Linked DNA regions of Homo sapiens: all the other regions are linked to region 1. The links are contacts of gene promoters, found by promoter capture Hi-C in blood cells and fetal thymus (Javierre and others, 2016). All regions are on one chromosome and are shown on one strand. Each heading gives the region's core, a stretch centred on a gene start or on the middle of the fragment in contact. The rest is flanking DNA. Distances are from core to core; before and after follow the strand shown. Region 1 holds the start of PLPP5 (phospholipid phosphatase 5). Region 2 has its middle 7.9 kb from the start of TACC1. Region 3 overlaps LOC124901934 (a long non-coding RNA gene). Region 4 overlaps PLPBP (pyridoxal phosphate binding protein). Region 5 overlaps ADGRA2 (adhesion G protein-coupled receptor A2).

Region 1 (2,708 bases), core at 86-2,585:
TGGTTGTCATTATTTTATCTCATTTGTCCTGTTACATGCCCTATGTTAAGATAATTATATTGCCACTAATAATCAAGATGCTAAATGAGTATTACAACTGGCTAATATCATTTTTTATATACAAGGGTATGTGTATATTTGGAATTGATATGAGAAACTCATTTGTACCCATTTGAGTGATATTGCACAACAAACACAGATACCTACAGACTCCGTTTTCATTTTCTCGTGTTCTTTATGATAATGATCTTTGTAGATTGGTTATTTCTGTACTTTATCTGTAATAAACTTTGTAGATCCTGTGAACCATTACTTTGCCTAAATCACTTGAGACTTGAGTCTTTAATAACAAAGCATCAATATTCACTAAAGTCAATCTCTTTTGAGTTTCTGTGACTTGGCTAGAAGCTCTTGACACTAAGGGATTAGTGTTAATTTTCCCTGGGGGTGTTCCACTAGGGCATTACTGTATAATGACTTGATGTTGCCACATAGACTTCAAGATATATAATATTTTGAGGATTTTGTTGATTGGCCTATGTTTTATTGCATAGTGTGAAACGTGTAAAGCTTGGTTAACCTGTATATAGATAGCTTATTGTTGACTAGTTATAGTGTATTTAGGGTTGCCTGTAATATTTAAGCTTCTTTACTGATGTGTGTGCTGGTAGGAACATATAATTTTTGTACATTATATTTACTGAGATGTTGCCTTTTTTATTTTACAAATACTTTGGAATTCCAATGTGTTTTTTGCTTCCGTGAGGATTAATTTGGAAAGGTTTTTAATGACATTCCACTGATTTCAGATTTTGCTTGAGATTGACTTCAATAAATTGTCCTGTATGTTCCAAATTAAATATGTGGGCTTGTTCTTTGCCAATAATTTTTTGCTACAACACTCTGGGCAGGAGGCCATCCTGGGTGGGAGGACTAAATGACACAATCCAGCCAACCTCAGGTAGTGTAGCTTCCTGCAGAATGCGGCTGTGTTGCTAAGGAACGAGGATCTGAGAGCGGGCTGTTTGGTTTTCCATTTAGAGGCGAGGTCCCGGGAGAAGGCTGCTCCCCGCGGTGGTGTGGTTGGGCCGTGGAGACGAGCTGCTGATGATGGACCGTACGCCGACCTACTCGGCTGGAACTGGGGCGCTGGCTCCCTGCTGAACGCACCAGAGGGCAGCTCCGCTGGCTTTGCGTACCCTTTGCCAGACGATGCCCTCGGCACAGCCGCCAGGCCGTCTTCCTGGGGAGCCGCCGGAGCGCGGGCAACTGGGAGAGGGGGCGGTGCCCAGTTCCCGGCCCGGCCCTCCCCGCGGAGGTGGCCACGTCAGCGCAGCGTCGCTCGGAGCTCGCGGCCGGATGGGGAAGGCGGCGGCGGCGGTGGCCTTTGGGGCCGAAGTGGGCGTGCGGCTCGCGCTGTTCGCGGCCTTCCTGTAAGAAAGATCCACGGCCGGGCCCGGGCGGCCCCGCTTCCCAGGCAGGCGGGCGGCACGGGGCGGCGGGTCGGGCAGTGGGGAAGCGGGGAGGAAGCCAGGCGACCTGCTCTGCGCTTCTTTGTTCCCCTCTAGGGTGACGGAGCTGCTCCCCCCGTTCCAGAGACTCATCCAGCCGGAGGAGATGTGGCTCTACCGGAACCCCTACGTGGAGGCGGAGTATTTCCCCACCAAGCCGATGTTTGTGCGTGGAGAAAGATCGTCTTTCCTCCCTCCCCATGACCCGGCTTCCCGCGGGCACCTGTGCGTTTTCCACCCCGAGACGGCCTTTGTAGGGACCCACTGCCCACTCCGCTGCTGTGCGCTGGGTTCCGCCTCCTAGGGCTCGAGTGTTTAAGATCCTGATTGAGAGAGGAGGGTGTCCGAGCCTCTTTGGGCTGAGACAACGTTTTCCCGGGCGCTCTGTGCCTCAGCCTGAGGTACCGGGGCCCGAGCCGCACGGGCGCTGCTGTTCACTGGTGGCGCTGCCTGGCGCCCGGTTACGCGCACTCAGAGACCTTATGTTAGCTCCAGTGAGTCCTGCTGTGTCACATCCCTCTTTCCTGTAGGAGCACGAGTGTGGCTTTTTTTTGGATTGTTTTTAACCTCTGACATTCTGATTCAGGTTATTGCATTTCTCTCTCCACTGTCTCTGATCTTCCTGGCCAAATTTCTCAAGAAGGCAGACACAAGAGACAGCAGACAAGCCTGCCTGGGTGAGCGCTAGCCCTTTCGGGCCGGTTTCTTCGTGCTGGGAACCTAGGAGGTCGTTGTGGGATTCAGCCACGGTGAGCCTGTGTGGAGGCCACTGAGTTCTGCATTCCTAAAGGAACTCTATCCCCGCGGGAGAGGAAAATAGCACTGCAGGGACTTGGTTACGCAGGCTACACGGCAGGCAGCCCTGTGCCTAAATGCACTGGGTTATTTGTACCTCAGAAATGTCTTTGGCCTAGTACAAAAGTTCTCGGCTACAAAAGAGTGATCACTGAGGACCCTAATTATTTTTGTGCCCAGGCCTGGTTGGATTCTATCCATCTCAGAAACAGCACGGCTGCTCTCATAACGAGGCCATGACCATACCTTTCCTCCTAGACAGATCCTTTCAACTAATGGCTTTGCTTTGCAGCTGCCAGCCTTGCCCTGGCTCTGAATGGCGTCTTTACCAACACAATAAAACTGATCGTAGGGAGGTAAGTGACAACAGCTAACCACCCCAGCATCTGCCTCAGCCCTTAC
Region 2 (2,708 bases), core at 140-2,639, 510 kb before region 1:
TTCGTCAATAATGTTTAAAAGTTTATCTGGAAAAATAAACTGGTGAACATATTTTAGATTTTGTAAAAAAAAAACAAAAAAAAACAACACCAACAAGAAGAGTGAAGAATAGACTAGTCCTACAAGACATTGAGACACATTTATGCAAAAATAGCCAGATCTTTGTTCTGTAACACAGAACAGAAAGCCCAGGAAAAGATCTTACAAGATACAGGAATTTATTATATACCAAAAAAGATGGCTTGAACCCGGGAGGCGGAGGTTGCAGTGAGCCAAGATCGTGCCACTGCACTCCAGCCTGGGCAACAGAGCGAGACTCTATCTCAAAAAAAAAGAACAAACAACAAAAATATAAAGAACATGTTACAATATGTAAGGAGAAGGAAGATTTATGATTGGAGCATAGTTGGCTGGCAATGGGAAAAAAGATCAAGTTAAACCCTTACCTCAGAGCATATACCAGGATAAATTCCAGATGGATTAGATGACTAAATAATAAAAATCGAACCATTGGGAGAAAACAGTCTACAAGCAACAGAATCTATCAGAGCTCTGTAGGAAGGATGAGGATCCAACTTACAAGTAATTAATGAAATCAGACACAAAATAAAGATAGATTTGGTTACATTTAAAAAAATGAAGCTTCTGACTGTGTGCCTTCAAGTTAAAAGGCAAACAACAGGCCATGGAAAAACAAAGGCTGTTAGTATTGTTATTACCTAAGGAACTCGTGAAAACAAGTAAGATCATTTAAGCCCCAAAAGAAAAGTGAACAATTATAACTGCTTACTATGTGTTAGACACTACACTTTACATGAATCGTCTCATTTAATCTCCCCCACTTACTCCTACAATCTCAGGAGGAAAGTATTGTTACGGCCTTTTTGTTGTTGTTAACAAGTTAACTTGGCTGCATTTCACCCTCTACAGCAGAGGCTTAGCAAGGAAGGGTTTCAGAAGGTCCTGGCCTCCCTGAAATTGTATGCAAAAAGTATGTGTGTGTGCATATTTGCATCAGTCTCTCCCTCTCCTCTTCCCCACATACAGTCAAGCCCCACTCCAGGAATAATGTTTTAGGTTGACTAAAGATTGATTTTCGAATCTGAAAGGGAACTAATATAAAATTCTTCAGTATAAGGAAGTACTGGCCAAAAAAGCCCTTATACGGAAAATCCAGACCTGCCAGAAGTTAGTGTAGAAAACAGCCAGCTTTGAAGACACCCGGAGGGTGGAAAAGGGCGGAGAGCAGGCCTAGCAGTGCTCACCACTCCAGGCAGGGTGTGCCCTTCCCCAAATGCCCAGTGGGAGCCCATGTTACTGGGCAGCCTGTGGGTTTCATCTAAGTGACTGTGTGGTGACCAAAGTGTGAAATGCTCATTTCAAGAAGGCATTTGCCAGTTGAGCCAAAGTACCATAAAAAAAGAGCATTTCAGCCAGGCATAGTGGCATCTTCCTATAATCCCAGCACTTTTGGAGGCTGAGGCAGGAGGATAACTTGAGCCCAGGACTTTGAGACCAGCCTGAGCAACATAGCAAAACCCCATCTCTATAAAAAAATTAAAAAGTAGCCAGGCGTGGTGGTGTTCGCCTGTAGTCCCAGCTAATCTTGAGCCCAGGAGGATCGCTTGAGCCCAGAAGGTCAAGGCTGAAGTAAGCCGTGATTGTGGCATTGCATTCCAGATTGGGTGACAGAGCGAGACCTTGTCTAAAAAGAAAAGAAAAAAAAAAAAAAAACCCAAGGACCCCTACTGATACAAATGAGAATCCTCAAAGGCACAAAAAATTGGGCCAGAGCATAAAAGGCATACTTTATGTGGGAGGTGCAAAAGGATTAATTTTAACATCTCTTTCTTTGGGATGCTCTTTCGCTATACTTCCTTTTAGGGTGGTTTCTTCCAAGAAACTATGTTGATGAGGGAAATGACACCCAGGAGCCTCTCCCCATCTGGGAAAAAGTAGCAAGGCTCAGCAAAGAAAGGAGGCATCAAACAGGTTGCCAAGGCCTGATTTTGTGAAGCAGGAAGCCTAAAAACTGGGGAAGCACTCTTTAAGAAAAATGCTAAAGGACCCCATGAACACAGTGCTAGGGCCACACTAGTATGAAGGGGCCCATGCAAGGGAGGGGACTGAAGCTTAGGCTTCCTCAGCTTCATAGTAAATTCAGCTCTGCCCAGAGAACAAAAGAGATTCCTGCCTGTGGCTCAGGAGTGGTTCAGCTGGCCTCAACTCAGTAAGTGAAATGTCCATTTATGGAGCGAGGGGGTCACACTGACCTCTGTCTTCTTAGAGGAAACAAAAATATTTAACTGTTGGAAACTGGATAAAACTGTCAAAAGATATCTCCTACACAGATTGTGAAACATAATTCATGGCTCTGTTCCTTCTGTACCCATTGTAAACACACACATACACACACACACACACACACACAATTTTAATTATTAAGATAAAAAAGCAAAAGGCCAGGTGTGGTGGCTCATGATTGTAATCCCAACACTTTGGGAGACGAAGGCAGGAGGATCGCTTGAGCCCAGGAGTTTGAGACCAGCCTGGACCACACAGTGAGAGCCCATCTCTACACACATGCACACACACAAAGATAAAAAAGAAAAACTATAATGCTTCTTTAACATTGTGTGTCTATGCACCTCTACTCTTTGAATTTCCACAAGATCACCATGGTAGAGCCTAATTCCCTCACCCCACAT
Region 3 (2,708 bases), core at 93-2,592, 510 kb after region 1:
TCAGATGGTTCTTGCGAGGAACCCCTAAGCGATACGAAAGGAAACTCTTCTTTCTTCTTTTCCCTAAAGACATGGCGTGATTCAAACGTATCGTGATTTTTGTCATCTTTCAGACCACTGCTGTCCAAGAGAAATATAACGCCATCCAACTGTGTAATTTGGAAGTTTCTCATAGGCACATAAGCTTAAAAATTTTAATGATATACTTTATTTAATCCAATATATCCAAAGTAAGATTTCAACATGCAATCAATAGAAAAACTAAATGCGATATTTTAATTCTTTTGAAAATCGTATGTGTTTCTGAAACCCGGTGTAGTGTTGACTTGCATATGTCTCAATTCGGGCCATCCCTATTTCGAGAGGTTAGCGGCCACCTGCGGCCAGTGCTGTCTCATCAGGGGACACAGGCAGCATGATTATTACTATTATTATTATTGAGACAGTCTCGCTCTGTCACCCAGGCTGGAGTGCGGTGGCCCGATCTGGGCTCACTGCAACCTCCACCTCCCGGGTTCAAGCGATTCTCCTGCCTCAGCCTCCCCAGTAGCTGGGACTACAGGTGCGAGCCACCGCGCCCAGCCCACAGGCAGCTTTAGATGGTCTAGCAGGAGCTCAGCACATTCAGTTAGATTCTTTTTTTGAGATGGGGTCTCGCTATGTTGCCCAGATTATCTGGGACTCGTGGGCCCAAGCAATCCTCCCACCTCCGCCTCACAGAATAGCTGGGACTACAAACGGGCACCACAACGCCCTGAGTTTGATTCTTGAGTCCCCTTCTGTGGGCAATATGGTTATAAACTTGATGAGGAGCCAGGCCATACAAATAATAATACAGAATGCTACATAGTCAGGTGGTGAAATAGTAGGTGCTACGGGCAAGGAGAAGGAGATCAATTTTGTTAAGGAAAGCACTCTTGGCTGCAATTTCTGTTGAAAGTTTCTCAAACATTAATTCAACTTAATGAAGTGGGATGCTATTATATTAGAGAAATGGCTAATGTTTGTTCTTCAGGTGGTCTTGTCTTGAGGTGATGGGGTTTATTAGAGCTTTCCGGAAAGAAGGGGCAATATTCTTACTCTCTCCTCTCACAGTTTTTCCCCAGACTCCCAGGAACAGAGATGGAATTTCACATCTTCTGCTCTGGGAAAGTCACATTAGGCAGAACCTCAGATCCTTAAAATAAGGGACTTCTTTTTGGGAAGTCTCTGGTCATTTACCCTGGTACACATTAACTGGGTTATCTGCAAACTAGGACTGCCAACATTAGGAGTAATTGTGTTCAGATAAAATGTCTCTAGACTTGATACATCTGTACTCCAACCAAAATGATAAAAAAATTTAAAATGACCAGAATGGCCCTTTGTGGTGTGAGCATAATAGATGCTTGCTGTAGAGACACAGGTGGGAAGGAGCGAGCCAGCAGTGAGTGATGGGGAGGACAGAGGGGATCATGGTGATGGGATGTGTAGAGGAAGGATTGGGTGAGATGAAACACTTCAAATAATGTGCTATTTGGAAAACATTTTAAAACCATAAATACCTCACAGATCTAGGGAATGTATAATCCAGGTGTTACGTCACTATGACAACAAGTAGTTGTAGCTTCATTTACTAGATTGGGCCTCTATTCTTTTTTGTGTTTTTTGAGACGAAGTCTTGCTCTGTCACTCAAGCTGGAGTGCAGTGACGCGATCTCGGCTCACTGCAACCTCTGCCTCCTGGGTGCAAGTGATTCTCCTGCCTGAGCCTCCCGAGTAGCTGGGACTACAGGCGTGCATCACCACGCCCGCCTAATTTTTGTATTTTTAGTACAGATGGGGTTTCACTATGTTAGCCAGGTTGGTCTCGAACTCCTGACCTTGTGATCCACCCGCCTCGGCCTCCCAAAGTGCTGGGATTACAGTCGTGGGCCACCGTGCCCAGCCAGGGACCTCTATTCTTTGAACTACAAGGCAAGGTCATCCTCCCACCCCCTTATCCATTCAGTGAACATTTACTGAGGCGTTACTCTGTAAAGAACCCTGAGAGAGACCAGGCTGAGTAAGACAGGCTTTACTGCCGATTTACTTCCAATATGCTCGCTTTTCATCTCTGACATTCTGTGGTCTTATGAAAATGGAAATGGAGACAAAAAGATCATGGTGCCCCCAGTCCCATGGTCATTTCACATTCCAATTTCTTCTTAGTTGTACTTTTGAATTAATTTTATTTCACTTTGTCCCTTTTTTTCCTTATTTGCTTTTTTAATTTCTTCTCTTCCTCTTCCTGGGACATCAACCATCCAATTTAACCTTTCATCCTCCCCTACTACCTAATCCTTGAAAAATACAAGTCCAAAATCATTTCATCACCAGTAATTGTCTTTAAATTGCTCCAATAATTTGCAAGGACCAAGGGGAAAAGAGAAAGATTAAAAAGCCAAATGCCCAGAGAAACAGATTTTATAAATAATCTAAAATCTAGTATACTTATTCACCATCAATGCCATCAAGCTTTTAAAACACCCTCATAGTCTGGAATAAATCCAAATTATGAGAAAAACATATATGGATTTAAAAATTGTTTCCTTCTGAGCCTACTGTGAGTCTTTTAGGGGGATAAAAAAGTAAAAAGTAAAATAGAAAATTACTGTTGCCTGGTTACTTAGCTCTAAAGAGAAACGGAGAAATAATGCCCATGTCCCATCCCAGTTTAAATGAATTCA
Region 4 (2,708 bases), core at 209-2,708, 490 kb after region 1:
CTGCAGCCTGTGAGATTAGCTTGAATCATGAGGAATGAGCTTGGGAGGGAGATGGGATGACGAGAGGGGAGGCCAATCCCACTCATGGCTGGGTTTAATGCTCTCCTTCCTTCTCACCCCCACTGCCTGTGGTTTCAAAGTTTGTTCTGCATTAAGATGCGTCAATTCTCAGCTGTTCCACTGGAATAGAAACACACACACTTATTTTATGGTAATAAGGCTCGTTTAAATGAAAGCTGCACATCTAAGAATATGCCACTTATCAATTATTAAAGGTAGAGATAGAAGATACCAGTGTGGAGTAGTGACCATGTTCTGGGCCAGAAAGTCAAGTCCTGAGTTTATTTCTCGTCCTGCCACAACTCACTCTGACCTCAGACAAGGAGAACACGGAACCTTCTCTGGGCCCCAGTGCCCCGTCCACAAAGGGACATTGCCTATCAGCCTACACAAGTCTACCAGCTGTTGTGATGGTGAAATGAGAGAATATAGAGAATAGTGCTGCATATGCCATCAATGTTAAACAAAAGGTGGGGGGTACCATTTGAGTATTAAGAGGTTGCTTTAAGAACTGTGATAGAATCTGTGAGGAGCTCCCCAAGAGATCAAAGTCTTGATGGACTATTGGGAGGTTTTGTGGCGTCTCAAGCCTTCTGAGGCTGGCTTCAGGGCAGACAAGGGCCCAGCGCCTTCAGAGACTGTGAGGCTGCACAGGTGGGCCCAATCCAGGAGAGCAAGCCGTCCAAACTCCAGGAACTGGCTTTCATGAAAATCTGGAAGAAACCCAACCTGCCACCCATCATGCGTAACGAAAGACAAACTCACAACCTGGCTCAATTTTCTCTCTGCAAAATATCCCATCCTGCTGGGGACACCCTAGACACACTTTGGTGTCCTTCCCTTATCTAGATCTGATTGAGCCTTCCCTGGCTTTCCTCCTTATTCGCTGTTTTTGTTTTGTTTTGAGATGGGGTCTCACCTTGTCACCCAAGCTGCAGTGCAGTGGTGCGATCTCAGCTCACCGTGACTTCTTCCTCCCAGGCTCAAGCGATCCTCCCACCTCAGCCTCTGGAGTAGCTGGGTCCACAGGCATGTGCCACCATGCCCAGCTAATTTTTGGGCGGGGTATTTTTGGTACAGACAAGATTTCACCGTGTTGCCCAGGCTAGCTGGTATCGAACCCCTGAGGCTCTGCAAGTCACACTATCACTTGAGAGCGTCATGTCCTCTCTGGCCTCCACCAGACTGAGTAACCAGGAGTCCCTCATAAGGTAAACTACTGACAGTGGAGAGCCAGTGCTTGTCCCTCAGGTTAGCCAATGTCGCCATCTAGAGGCAATTCAAAAGTCTCTTGCAGTGAGGGGTAACTATTTTTGTAATTCTTGAAATGTCCTTTTTCTTGCCCTTAGAAGTTCAGAATCCCTCTCACCCATGGTGTAGCTTTGGCTGCGTCTGTGACCCCAGGGAAGCCCTCCTCCAAAGCCAGGCTGGCACAATGCCAAGGCACCAGCATAGCTGCTTCCCGTCGGTTCCAATGCCCCCACCTGTTATATTCAGTCACTACACCAGATCATAAAAAATAAATCTTTTAATTGCTTTGTAATTGGCACAGATGGTGTAATTCAAACTCACATTTTTATTTAATAGACTCTGAAATATCACACTGTAGCTCTCACTGAAATAATACAGGAATCATAATGTTTAAGTTTACAAAAGTACATTTGGCAGCATCATGATGTTTTGAAAGTTACCTGTAAAATCAAAGACTGGGGCTTCAAAAAATAAGAGAAAAAGCCATCTGGAAAATAAAAAACAAGCCATACTGAAGCCATTTGTCATGACTATTAGAGAATGGTGTTTTTGGGTTTTTTGAGGATCTTGCTACTTTATTAATGATCCAGAAGAGTTGCACAATTCTGGCTTGTAAATACAGTGGGGAAGCTGTAACTATGCCTGGAAAGTGCTCCTCAGGACAAGGAATGTCAAAGCCAGGCTTTGTTGAAACCATGTGCCTGAAAAGGCTTTGAAGGAATCTTTCGTTTCTTAGGAGTAATGAGATTCACTGGGTTTTGATTTAAAAAATCACCCTAAAGAGGATTATAGTGGAGGAGATAATCATTAAATTCTCATCACTGTAGGTCCCAGAGGAAAAACGCAAAGTCCTGTCTCTTCAGGATGATGTCAGAAAGGCCCAAGTCCTCCTTATGTTATCCTTTAATTTCAGGGATAAAACAGAGTGGCAGTGACACAAGCTCTCACTACCAAATTAATTTTTTTTTTAAGAGACAGGCTGTCTCTAAAAAAGTTGGGGGGTATTATCTGCATATTAAAAGGTTGCTTTAAGAAATGTGACAGCATCTATGAAGAACTTCCCAAGAGATCAAAGCCTTCATGGACTATTGGGATTTTTTTTTTTTTTTTAAGGCAGGAGTACAGTGGTGCAATCATAGCTCACTGCAGCCTCAAACTCCTGGGCTCAAGTGATTCTTCCATTCTTCCACCTCAGCCACCATGCCCAGTTAATTTTTAAATTTTTTTGTAGAGACGGGGGGTGGGGCTCCTGCTGTTGCTGAGGCTGGTCTTGAACTCCTAGGCTCAGGTGATCCTTCCGCCTCTGTCTCCCAAATTGCTGGGATTACAGGCATGAGTCACCATGCCTGGCCAGCAACAATTTGTGTTTTGAGAATTAACCTGAGCCATTTCCTGAA
Region 5 (2,708 bases), core at 13-2,512, 420 kb after region 1:
CCTGCCACCATGCCTGGCTAATTTTTTTGTTTTTCTTTGCATTTTTAGTAGAGACAGGGTTTCACCATGTTGACCAGGCTGATCTCGAACTCCTGACCTCAGGTGATCCGCCTGCCTCGGCCTCCCAAAGTTCTGGGATTACAGGCGTGAGCCACCGCACCCGGCCTTGGCCATCTCTTTTTTACCAAAGCCCATGTAAAAGGATGTGGGAGAAAGATCTTTAGTTTAAACTTGTACTCATAAGGTTAATATTGTTTTACATTTTTAGAATGCTATAATTTTCTTTTTTTTGAGACCGAGTCTTGCTGTGTTGCCCAGGCTGGAGAGCAGTGGCATGATTTCGGCTCACGGCAACCTCCACCTCCCGGGTTCAAGTGATTTTTGTGCCTCAGCCTCCCAAGTAGCTGGGACTACAGGTGCATGCCACCATGCCTGGCTAATTTTTTGTTTTTAGTAGAGATGGGGTTTCGCCATGTTGCCCAGGCTGGTCTTGAACTCCTGGACTCAAGCGTTCTACCCACCTCAGCCTCCCAAAGTGCTGGGATTACAAGTGTGAGCCACTGCACCCCGCCAAAGAATGCTATAATTTTCAAACCCCTTTGCCTTCACAGCAACCTAATGACTTGGGGAAAATAGGTCTGAGTCTTGGCACAGGGCTGCTGAGTTGCACCACTCATGTTTTGTGCTCTGTGCATGGCAGTTCCTAGAGTTGTGCTGTGCCATGGGCTTTGTGGCTGAATGCCCAGCTCTGTCTCAGCAGGATCATCTGCAGAGGAAGCTGAAAGTATATTAGTTAATGACATAACTGGGCTTAGAAGCTAAGTCTTTTCTAGTTTTTTTAAAGACAGGGTCTCTTTCACCCAGCCTGGAGTGCAGTGGCACCATCATAGCTCACTGCAGCCTGGAACTCATGGGCTCAAGCGATCTGCCCACCTGATCCTCCCAAAATGCAGGTATTACAGGCGTGAGCACTGCGCCTGGCTCTTTTCTCATTTGAAGTAGCTATGTTCTTTTCTTTTTTCTGATAAATAACGTTGAAAGTAGAGGCTGTTGGTGTCAAATAGCCTTGTATTTGAAGCTTGGTTACTGCCTGGCTGGATGACTATGGGAAAGTTTTTTAACTATACATGCACATAAGATGGTGCACGTGCACGTAGATTAAATGAGAACGTTGTAAAGCACTCAGAATAATGGTGATTGGGAGGCGCCCAATAAATGTTCGTGCTCTCCTCCATCCCTCCACCTTCCCCTAACAAGCGGAAGACGCCCTGTTTTCTCTCACTACCTTTATTAACTTGCTGCCCAGTGAGCTTGAGTATTCCTGAGGGCAGAATAGCTTCCCCATCTTGAGTGGGCTGTCTTTCCTCACTGTGGGAGAGCAGCCCCTATATCATTAAGATCCAACCCTCATTTTGGTTATTTCAGCTTCAAACTGTTCCAAGCTTCACCTTCTGTGCCAGCCAAATACGTGGAAGACAAAGAGAAGATGCTGTCTCGAACAATGCAGTTGGTGGAGCTGGCAAATGAGACGTGGCTGGTGACCGGGAGGCATCCCTTGCCCGTCATCACTGCTGCGACTTTCCTGGCTTGGCAGTCGCTGCAGCCTGCAGATCGGCTTTCATGTTCCCTTGCCCGATTTTGTAAATTGGCAAATGTGGACCTGCCCTACCCGGCGTCCTCCCGCCTGCAGGAGCTGCTGGCTGTGCTGCTGCGGATGGCTGAGCAGCTGGCCTGGTTACGAGTTCTGAGACTTGACAAACGGTCTGTGGTGAAGCACATCGGTGACCTTCTCCAGCACCGCCAGTCACTGGTCCGCTCTGCCTTTCGGGATGGGACAGCAGAAGTGGAGACCCGAGAGAAGGAGCCACCGGGGTGGGGACAGGGGCAAGGAGAAGGGGAGGTGGGAAATAATTCCTTAGGTTTACCCCAGGGGAAGCGGCCGGCCAGTCCTGCCCTTCTCTTGCCACCCTGCATGTTGAAGTCCCCGAAGCGGATCTGCCCTGTACCCCCTGTCTCCACTGTCACTGGAGATGAGAACATTTCTGATAGTGAAATAGAACAGTATTTGCGTACCCCTCAGGAAGTTAGGGACTTTCAGAGAGCCCAGGCTGCTAGACAGGCTGCCACGAGTGTCCCTAACCCTCCCTGATGGATATCCACTGGGAGCACTTCATCCTGTTCTGACAGCTTGATAACATTCCTGTTATAACCAAGGATGGAAGTGTACACCAGTCCGTAGGTATTGCTTTTCTTGTTTGAAGGAACCAAGAGGGGCTCTGCCATTAGTTGGACCCTGGGTCCTGGAGTAAAGTCAGGAGTGCAGGGATGACTATAGGTAGGAGAGATTCCCATCCCTTGGTGTGGGAGAGCAAGTTGCCTATGTCCATGTTCTGTGAGATGGCTTTCCTCATAGATGGATGGGAAAATGTCAGGCTCTTTGCTGCTGGTTTGAATTGGACACACTGCTGCGGCTCCTCCTGCAGGCCTGAGGGGGCTTCCCTCTGCTTGTGGAGTGGTTGGCATTCCCAGCAGTATCAACCCTCAGAGGAGCGGGAACTGGGGAATTCTGGCCCTACGTGCATTCACAGGCAATGATGGGTTTGTGTGTATGGTGTCATGAGATCCTCTACCTCATAACAAAAGGACAGTGGGTAGACTAAGGCAGTAGCTCAAAGGGCTTTGCAAAATTTTAATATATTAAAACAAGA

The links. The method cuts DNA at HindIII sites, captures the fragments that hold promoters and counts their contacts. A CHiCAGO score of 5 or more calls a contact.
Region 2: a fragment that was not itself captured here is called in contact with the fragment with the promoter of PLPP5 in region 1 in 3 of 17 cell types (megakaryocytes, total CD4 T cells and activated CD4 T cells); the score reaches 7.1 in megakaryocytes.
Region 3: a contact is called between a fragment that was not itself captured here and the fragment with the promoter of PLPP5 in region 1, in 8 of 17 cell types (total CD8 T cells, activated CD4 T cells, naive CD8 T cells and 5 more). The highest score is 10.4, in total CD8 T cells.
Region 4: a fragment that was not itself captured here is called in contact with the fragment with the promoter of PLPP5 in region 1 in 6 of 17 cell types (activated CD4 T cells, total CD8 T cells, total CD4 T cells and 3 more); the score reaches 6.4 in activated CD4 T cells.
Region 5: a fragment that was not itself captured here is called in contact with the fragment with the promoter of PLPP5 in region 1 in 1 of 17 cell types (naive CD8 T cells); the score reaches 5.6 in naive CD8 T cells.

What each region holds. Positions count from the first base shown.
Region 1 is chr8:38,267,851-38,270,558 of GRCh38, reverse strand. PLPP5 (phospholipid phosphatase 5) reads left to right here and starts at 1,335. Exons shown (of 7, transcript NM_001102559.2): 1 at 1,335-1,433; 2 at 1,569-1,677; 3 at 2,098-2,188; 4 at 2,599-2,662. The coding sequence starts at 1,360. It overlaps NSD3 (nuclear receptor binding SET domain protein 3), which reads left to right. Exons shown (of 24, transcript NM_023034.2): 24 at 1-855. It also overlaps a transcript of DDHD2 not described here. RefSeq lists a silencer at 1,137-1,616. The HindIII fragment of the contact is 3,801 bases long and covers 647-2,708 here.
Region 2 is chr8:38,777,998-38,780,705 of GRCh38, reverse strand. It overlaps a transcript of TACC1 not described here. Among named protein-coding and RNA genes, the nearest start is that of TACC1, 7.9 kb to the left of the region's middle. The HindIII fragment of the contact is 1,490 bases long and covers 645-2,134 here.
Region 3 is chr8:37,759,506-37,762,213 of GRCh38, reverse strand. It overlaps LOC124901934 (a long non-coding RNA gene), which reads left to right. Exons shown (of 2, transcript XR_007060889.1): 2 at 1-2,708. Among named protein-coding and RNA genes, the nearest start is that of PLPBP, 1.8 kb to the left of the region's middle. RefSeq lists an enhancer at 1-20. The HindIII fragment of the contact is 2,312 bases long and covers 187-2,498 here.
Region 4 is chr8:37,778,631-37,781,338 of GRCh38, reverse strand. It overlaps PLPBP (pyridoxal phosphate binding protein), which reads right to left. Exons shown (of 8, transcript NM_007198.4): 8 at 1,571-2,708. Among named protein-coding and RNA genes, the nearest start is that of ADGRA2, 17 kb to the left of the region's middle. RefSeq lists enhancers at 1-409, 350-850. The HindIII fragment of the contact is 3,237 bases long and covers 1-2,708 here.
Region 5 is chr8:37,843,931-37,846,638 of GRCh38, reverse strand. It overlaps ADGRA2 (adhesion G protein-coupled receptor A2), which reads right to left. Exons shown (of 19, transcript NM_032777.10): 19 at 1,743-2,708. BRF2 (BRF2 general transcription factor IIIB subunit) reads left to right here. Exons shown (of 4, transcript NM_018310.4): 4 at 1,426-2,708. The coding sequence ends at 2,149. Among named protein-coding and RNA genes, the nearest start is that of BRF2, 4.6 kb to the left of the region's middle. The HindIII fragment of the contact is 364 bases long and covers 1,081-1,444 here.